2 separate regions of the Homo sapiens genome follow, and region 2 is linked to region 1. The links are contacts of gene promoters, found by promoter capture Hi-C in human tissues and cell types (Jung and others, 2019). All regions are on one chromosome and are shown on one strand. Each heading gives the region's core, a stretch centred on a gene start or on the middle of the fragment in contact. The rest is flanking DNA. Distances are from core to core; before and after follow the strand shown.

What was found. Contacts are between HindIII fragments. The study calls those that stand out against the background at their distance.
Region 2: a contact is called between the fragment with the promoter of PDXP here and the fragment with the promoter of PICK1 in region 1, in 1 of the 25 tissues and cell types used here (pancreas).

Annotation. Positions count from the first base shown.
Region 1 is chr22:38,055,654-38,059,626 of GRCh38, reverse strand. It overlaps PICK1 (protein interacting with PRKCA 1), which reads right to left and starts at 2,223. Exons shown (of 13, transcript NM_012407.4): 1 at 2,040-2,223; 2 at 1,777-1,874; 3 at 282-393. The coding sequence starts at 1,817. RefSeq lists enhancers at 1,522-2,145, 2,390-2,449, 2,146-2,771. The HindIII fragment of the contact is 14,484 bases long and covers 674-3,973 here.
Region 2 is chr22:37,656,994-37,661,254 of GRCh38, reverse strand. It overlaps PDXP (pyridoxal phosphatase), which reads right to left and starts at 2,532. Exons shown (of 2, transcript NM_020315.5): 1 at 1,899-2,532. The coding sequence starts at 2,472. It overlaps PDXP-DT (PDXP divergent transcript), which reads left to right and starts at 2,878. Exons shown (of 6, transcript NR_109952.1): 1 at 2,878-3,000. RefSeq lists enhancers at 307-817, 818-1,329, 2,156-2,657, 2,846-2,895, 2,906-2,975 and silencers at 2,036-2,145, 2,346-2,655. The HindIII fragment of the contact is 18,911 bases long and covers 1-4,261 here.

The sequences.
Region 1 (3,973 bases), core at 974-3,473:
CAGTGAAAAAGCAAACCAGGACACTGCCCTCAGTGCAAAGAGTCTACTCTACTAGACAGAGGGCAAATAACAAGTAATAAGTGCCGAGAAGGAAAAAAACAGAGCGACACAGGGGAGAAGACAGGGCAGAGCAACGCAGCGCAGGTGGTCAGAAAGCCCCTCTGAGAGGGTCAGACCTCAAGAATGAGAAGGAGTCAGCTATGCAGTGTGGAGAAATGAACCTGCCTTTGTCATGCCCAAGTAGGGATGTACCTTGTGCCCCCCTCCAAAGCGCCCAATACCTGGACGATATAGAGGCAGGGACAGTACTGGGCCCCTCCTCCAATGCTGATCCCGATCAGGTTCTGAGCATCCTTCTGCAGGGTCACCTTCCCAGGCACAGTCGGGATTCCGCTAGAAAGGAAAGCAAGCTAGGCTGACTCTCCTGGCAGAAGGATGACTGGAGCGGGTGGGCCCTCTAAAACTCCTGAGGGGCTCCACTGGCTGCCCAGCTTTTTCTCTCCCTCCCTTGGACAAAACAACATTTTGTGCTGGAACATGCACAGCTCTTGGAGTTAAGCAGATGTGGGATCAAACCCCAGCTCTGCCATTTATCAGCTGTGGAACTTGGTTTTTTTTTGAGATGGAGTCTTACTCTTGTTGCCCAGGCTAGAGTGCAATGGCGCAATCTCGGCTCACTGCAACCTCCGCCTCCCGGGTTCAAGTGATTCTCCTGCCTCAGTCGCCCAAGTAGCTGGGACTACAGGTGCCTGCCACCACGCCTGGCTGATTTTTTTGTATTTTTAGTAGAGACGGGGTTTCACCATGTTGGCCAGGCTGGTCTTGAACTCCTGACCTCAGTTGATCCGCCTGCCTCAGCCTCCCAAAGTGCTGGGATTACAGGCGTGAGCCACCGTGCCTGGCCAGCTATGGGACTTGGGTAAGTCAGCCTCTGTGCATCTCAATTTCCTCATCCATAAAATGTGGATGAGCACCCTTATCAGAGTTCTTCTAACCATGCATGGAGGGCACTAACAGCAACCCAGTCCATAGCAGGCACTCCATAAAAATAGGTCCCCCTTCCCTTTCATTTATTCGATCTCTGAGATTTGAGCCAGGTTCTGTCCTTGTCACCTTATCAGGCATCTATGTAGTATGATGGCCACCTACTCCAGGGAGTCTTCCTCTATTAAACTGTCCACCTCCCACCTCTCAACTGCTCGATTACCTCTCGGTTTCCACTATAAATTAGCATTGACTGGTGTTTTATGATAAGTACTCACGCTGATTCACTTATTCATTCAAAAAACATTCGCTAACAACCTACTGACGTCAAGTCCCTTACTAAGTGCTGAGCATAGAGAAAGGCATTGCACCCACTCCTTGATCTGAAAGAGGATATATTCTAATGGGAAAATCTGTCCTACTAACAACCTATGTTGGGAAGGAAGGGTGTCTACAATATTCCTATTCAACCTTCAAAACCTGGTTCAATTGCTACGTCCTCCATGAAGCTTTCCTTGACCATCCCAGCAGAAGCACTGCTCCATCTGCTTTGCTCTTCTTGTCACCAAGTCATGCTAATAGTGCCCTTATGGCACTGAGCTGTGATTATCCCTTTAACTGTCCACAGCCCCCTACAAATAGTGAGCTCCTGGGAGAGCAGGGTCCATTGCTGCTTCAGTACAACAACTGATCCACCGCTGAGAAGCAAGGGTCTGTGGGACTGGGAAGTCCAGGGAAATGAGGAACTTGGGGCTCCTATACTGCTGGAACTTGGGGGAATAAAATACTCACAGTTTATCCTCTTCGATGTCATAATCCAAGTCTGCAAACATGGTTCCGAGAGTTGGAGTGGGCTGGCTAACTGCCCAGCTCGGTAGGGGAATGGGGAACTGGATCCGGGAGAGAAAGGAGCATAGGATTTAAGGAACCCAAGTGCCTAAATGCCAACGCCACCCCTCCCTCCACCACCTCATACGGGACAGCAGTGCCCTCCTCTTCCCTCTGGAGTGGGATGGGACAGTCTCCGGGTGGGGGGCTGGGTAGGTGATTCTTACTAGGTACAAAGGGGGGCTCCAGGCCAGGGCGATAGGCTCAGATCCCAGAGTCCGCCCCACGGGTCTCCAGGCCCTGGGGAGCTGCCTCTGTCGCTCACCGGAAGCGTTGGTCCCACAGCCGGGTCCCGGCCAGGCTGGTACCTGAACCCACCTGCCGTTCCACCTGGCGGTGGCCGCGATTGTCACGTCACTTCCGGCAAGACGCGGAAGTCCCGGCTTTCCCCCCACTGGATATTTGCTCCAATCCCTGCAGACAATCCTTCCCTTCCCGGCTCCCGGGACGCTCGGAACCAAGAACGAGAACAAGTATTGGCGGAAGCTCGCTGTTAGTAGGAACAAGCGAAAACAGAGGAACGGTCTGGACAGGCTGACAGCGTCTAACCCCGCCCTTTGCCCTGCCGCCGCCGCCATCTTGGGAAGGGCAGGGTTTGTCCCAGCTTCCTCAGCTGCACTCAGGGGCCCGCGCCGGCCCGGCGGTTGCCATGGCAACGAAAGCATCCCTGAGCCGGGGTTACCTCCGGCGAGGCTCAGTGGACTATAAACCCCAAGACATCATGCCCTTTCACCCCTTCACCACCTGGGCCTGTGACTCCCCTACTAGAATGGCCCTTTGAGGTCCCAGCCCATCCCAGTTTCGCCAACTTAAGTGCCAAAGAGCGGGGAGTGATTTTGTGCGGGGCCACACACAGTTGGTGTAAGATCTGGATCGTGGCCCTGAAACTCCCGCCGCCTAGTCTAGGGATCTTTGAACGTCCAAACACTAAACAGAGAGCCAGGAGAGGTGTATTCAGTGGGTCTTGCTATTAAGGACAGACTGGACATGCTCCCTTCCCTTTATGTGCCTCAGTTTCCCCATATGTAAACCAAGGCCATTGAGGTAAATGCTTTCTATGGTATATGGTGAAAGGTTTCTCACACCCCCTCCTCCTTCCTTAGTCCTGAGGAGCAGCCCCCCTGGGGTCCCAGGGAGGGTCACGGTCCGCATGTACCTGAGGCTCGGGAAATGCTATCAGTGCTCCCCAGAGTCCGAATCTTGTCTCCTCGCCAGCCTCTGCTGCCACTGCTATTGTGTAAAGTGGGTTCCCTGGGGGAGGTTGGCTCTCCCAGAGCCACAGCCAGGCATCCACCTCATCCGGCAGCATGGGGCCAGGCCCATCCAGCTTGCTTCCCCAGCTGCCCCAGGAGCCATGGAAGAAAGATACAGAAGGATGATTATCCACATATCCCACGGCCGGTGGAAGCCCCGCCCTACTCTCTCCTTAGGTGGCTAATTGAGTCCGGACAGATGTGCAGAATGCCGTGACAATAACAGCCTTCCCACGTGTCCACTGCTCTCCTGTGAGATCACTTTCACAGGATTTGAAAGCTCACCACCACCCTGTGAGAGAAGACCAAATCTTGCCAGCCACATTGTGCAGGCAAGGAAACGGAGGCCCTGGGAAGCCTCTTCCTCTGGTATCATAGCGGCAGGGCTGGGGCTGGGAAAACCAAGCTCTGTTTCCAGGCCAGAATTTTGGTTTCAAAAAGCAGCAGTCTAAGGCCAGGTGCGGTGGCGCACACCTGTAATTCCAGCTATTTGGGAGCCTGAGGCAGGAGAATCGCTTGAAAATAGGAGAGGGAGGTTGTAGTGAGCCGAGATCAGGCCATTGCACTCCAGCCTGGGCGACAGAGAGAGACTCCGTTTCAAAAAAAAAAAAGGCAGCAGTCTCCAAACCCAGGTGCCTTAACATGGATTGTGGCTCTTCCAGCCCATGACCATGCTAGCTCAGGCCCAGGCTCTGCCATTTTGTAGCTGGGAGATCTTGGGTGAGTCGCTGTCTCACTCTGAGCCTCAGGTACGTGTAGAATGGGGAAATGACACCTGCCACCAGGTATTTGTGAAAGTCAAGATTAAAAGGAGAGGCTGGGCGCGGTGGCTCACGCCTGTAATCCCA
Region 2 (4,261 bases), core at 1,283-3,782, 400 kb after region 1:
GCTATGGGAGTGACAGCAGGATGGGTGGGCACAGCCAGGTGGCTACTGAGACCAAAGGGGTCTGGATTCCACAGACGCCTGCAAGGCAGGTGTGGGCAGGGCCTGGTTTCTCCCTAGCTCCTTGACAACCAGCCTTCCTGAGCCCTGGGGAACCTCTTAACCCACAGCCTTAACCTGAGCCTTGAGGCCTCCTGGGAAAAACTTTTCATAGCATAGCCTAAGGCAGGCAGGAGCTGCTGCCGCTGACAGCCCTGACCAGAGAGCCCTCAACACAGACTTATAGGGAAACTGAGGCTGAGGTGAGCCCGCCCACATACCAAGCAGGTGTGCAGCACAGCCAGGAGAGGCCAAGGACTACAGAATCCCTCTCTGCCATGCCATAACACTGGGTTTACATCTCCTGGTGTATTATCACTGCCCTGCATCATGCCTCCTCCAGGAAGTCTTCCTAGGTGCCCCTGGCACTAGGCCCTGCTCACCACCCCACCATAATCCTGTGTCTACTTCTCTCCACTCAATACCATCCTGTACCCCCAGGATTTAATATCAATGACTGTCCGGGTCAGTGGCCAACAGAGACGGAGTGACAGAGATCTGTCCACGGCCCCAGTATACTGACTGGGCTATTAACCTGTCCACACACACTGACCACTGCCAATTAGCCTCTGCTGCCACCTGCTCTTGTCTAACGCAAACCCTCCACAATGGAGGAGCCTCCTTTTGCTTCTGCCTCCCCTGCAGGGCTGAACTCGCAAGATGACAGCAGTGAAGACTGCCCTGGAGGTCGGTGTCACAAAGGCCAAATTCAGGTTCCCGCGCTCTATCACTCTGCCAGAGAGTTGCTGGCAGAATTCTGCCCCACCCATCATTGGGGTGCGGTTGGAGGGTTGGAGGGGAAGCCTGCGAGGACTGTCCCTACTTGTGAGGGCTGAAACACCAATTCCCAGAGGCAGGATGGAGGCAGGTGTGTGGGGACACAGGAGGTGGAGGGGCTCACTATATCTGTTCTTGGGCAGCTCACTTCCCTTCTCTTAGTCTCAGTTTCTTTCCTCTTCTTTTAGAGATAAGGTCTCACTATGTTGCCCATGCTGAAGTACAGTGGCTTTTCACAGATGCAATGATAGCACGCTACAGCCTTGACCTCCTAGGCTCAAGCAATCCTCCCGCCTCAGCCTCTCGAGTAGCTGGGACTACAGGCTGTTGCCACTGCATCCGGCTGCCTCAGTCTCTTTACTTGAGAAATGGGACAATAACTTCCATCTCCAGAGTAATTTGGAAACCAAAGAAGAACACACACAAAGCTGTTTCATTAAGTTCTCTGTAACATGGGGGACTCTGGCTACAACTTACATCATCTGAACACCTACTATGTGCCAGGCACTCACCCTGATCACCGTCACCGGGCATGCTGAGCACTGCCATTTCTCACCCAGGCAGAGATGCTTGGAGGTTATGTAACTGAACACGATTACACAGCTGTGAAGCTGGAGCTGGACCTGGAACTGAGGTCAAACTCCACCGCCTTTGCTCCCCACACACCTGCCTACACCCTGCCTCTGGGAATGGTGTTTCAACCCTCACACAGGGGGACAATCCTCCCAGGCTTCCTCTCCAACCCCACCCCGATGGTGGGTAGGGCAGAATTCCGCCCAACTCCCTAAGTTACAAAGGGCCTCAGTTTCCTCATCTGTCCAACAGGGACCACACTGCTGCGCCTCACAGGATGACGGCTACAGGGATCAACCGCCCCCCACACCAAAGCACCCTGGGCCTCCCTCGCACTCTCCTGTTCCCCACCTGCCACCTGGAGACGCCTCTTCCCCGCCCCTCACCCTTAGGCGTGGAGGCGAATGCGCAGGTCGCCCCCATCTCAGTTTCCCCGCCATTCCCGCGCTCACCAGGGGTCCGGCTGCCGTCGCTCAGCGGGTGCCATGGGTCACGGTCGGTGGCCACGAGTAGGCACTCGGGGTCGCGCAGGTGCGCGCACGCCTCCCTCAGCTTGGCGAAGGAGAAGTGCTCGTCGTAGCCCACAAGCACGGCGCGCACGCGCGGGGCCGCGCCGTCCCCCGCGCTCGGGTCCCCGGCCAGGCGCAGCCCCGCGGCGCGCAGCTCGGCGCGCAGCCCCTCGCCGCCCAGCACGAACACGGCGCCCGGCGCGTCCGGAGGCCCGGGCAGGCGCTGGCGCAGCAGGCGCGCGGCGCACAGCGCGGAGCTGAAGAGCTGCTCGGCGCGCAGCCCCCCGAAGCCGAGGCGCGCGAAGCGCAGGGCCAGCTCGGGCCGCGCGCGCCGGCTGTTGTTGCTCACAAACAGAGCCGCCTTGCCGGCCCGCGCCAGCCGCTCCAGCAGCTCCGGGGCGCCCGGCACGGCGCGCTCGCCGTTCCACAGCACCCCGTCACAGTCGAACAGGACCCCCTGCGCCCGGCCCAGCACGTCGCGCAGGGCCGCTCCGCGCAGCCTCTCGCAGCGCGCCATGCAGCCGGCCGGCCGCCGGCCTCCCGCGCCGCGCTCTCTCCGCGGGCACGGCGCGCTCTCCCTGGCACGTTCCACGCAGCCGCCAATTGGCGCGCTGGAAGGACCGGGGGGCGGGGCGACGGCGTGGCCTGCAGCCAATGGGGGCGAGAGTCTGGGAGAGGAGCGAAGCCGCGAGCTAACGGAACTTGGAGAGAGGGGCGGATTCGTGGCCAACACCGAGGGGAAGGGACCAATGAAGAGCTAGCTTGATCCTTCTCCCCGTCCCTGGTTCTGCTGGACCAGTCGCCGCCGAGTTTCAACGCCGACTACACTCTTACGCGGTGGGAGACTGACGCTCTTCTTAACCAATAAGAATCTACAAACAAAACGCGAAGCGAAAGGCCCCGTGCCCTCCAGCCAATCAGAAGCTTAGGCGAGCTGGTTGCTGGGAGAAAAACAGATGTTAAATGAACTGCCTTTGGGTCGAATCTCATTGCCCCCTGAATCGTGGACGCTCCAGTTCAGAGCGAAGTCCCAAGAAACGTGTGTGTACGATGGGGTACGAGGCACATGGTGTCTTCTTGGGTGCTGGAGCCCTCGGTCTAGACCAGTAGTTCTTCACACTGCGTTAGAGTCCCCTGGGAACTTATTTTCAGATATCATTTACATATAGTAAAATGCATAGATCTTAAATGTACAGTTCAATGTCTTGACAAATGCTTTTGAAATCACCGATGTGTAGCAGGACAGATCCTCATGTAAGTGTTTTGGGTGAAGACTGGGCATTTTTTGGTTTGTTGGTTAGTTGGTTTAATTCCAGGGATTCTACCGTGAGCTAGGATAGGGTAGGGAAGCACTGGGCTAGAGGCTGGTAGGCTGTCACTGCAGCACGCCCCGGGAGGGCAGGATCCAGAATGGTCGTGGCCAATTGCCCAGAATAGTAATGGGGTGACCCAGGTTGGCTGGGTCCCTGTCTTAGGGAGGAGGCCTTGTGATCTGGAAGCAACCACAGGTCTTGGGACCTTTGAGGAGCCACTGGTCTGCAGTGTGGGGATGAATGAATTGTGAGCTGTGGTGTCACAGTTTTGAAGTTGTCTGCCAACTTCAGATAAGGCTGTGACCCCCAGGAGCAACTGGAGCTCCAACGACTTGGGAAAAACTGTACCTTGTACCCAACCTTGGAAGCTCAACTAGCTCCTATTCCCCAAGTGCCCTAAGCCTTTTGCTCCTGGCCTTTGCATAGATAGTCTCCTTGGCCTGAATGTTCCTTTTTCCTTTAAAAATTTCACCTTCAGGGCCGGGCTCGGTGGCTCACGCCTGTAATCCCAGCACTTTGGGAGGCTGAGGTGGGCGGATCACGAGGTCAGGAGATCGAGACCATCCTGGCTACGGTGAAACCCCGTCTCTACTAAAAATACAAAAAAAAAAAAAAAAAAAAAGAAAAAAATTAGCTAGGCGTGGTGGCGGGTGCCTGTAGTCCCAGCTACTCGGGAGGCTGAGGCAGGAGAATTGCTTGAACCCAGGAGGCGGAGCTTGCAGCGACCTGAGATCGTGCCAATGCACTCCAGCCTGGGCAACAGAGCGAGACTCCATCTCAAAAAAAAATAAACAAAAAATAAAAAATAAATAAAATAAATAAAAATAAACAAAATTCACCTTCAGGTCAGCTCCTGAAAGACTTCCCTTAAATATCACCTTCTCCAGGAAGCCGTTCTTAACCACCCACCCCATACCATGAGTCTAGGTTATATGGCCACCCCTAACTTGGCTAATATGGGCTCCCAGTGCAATGACACTTGATTTTTTTTGT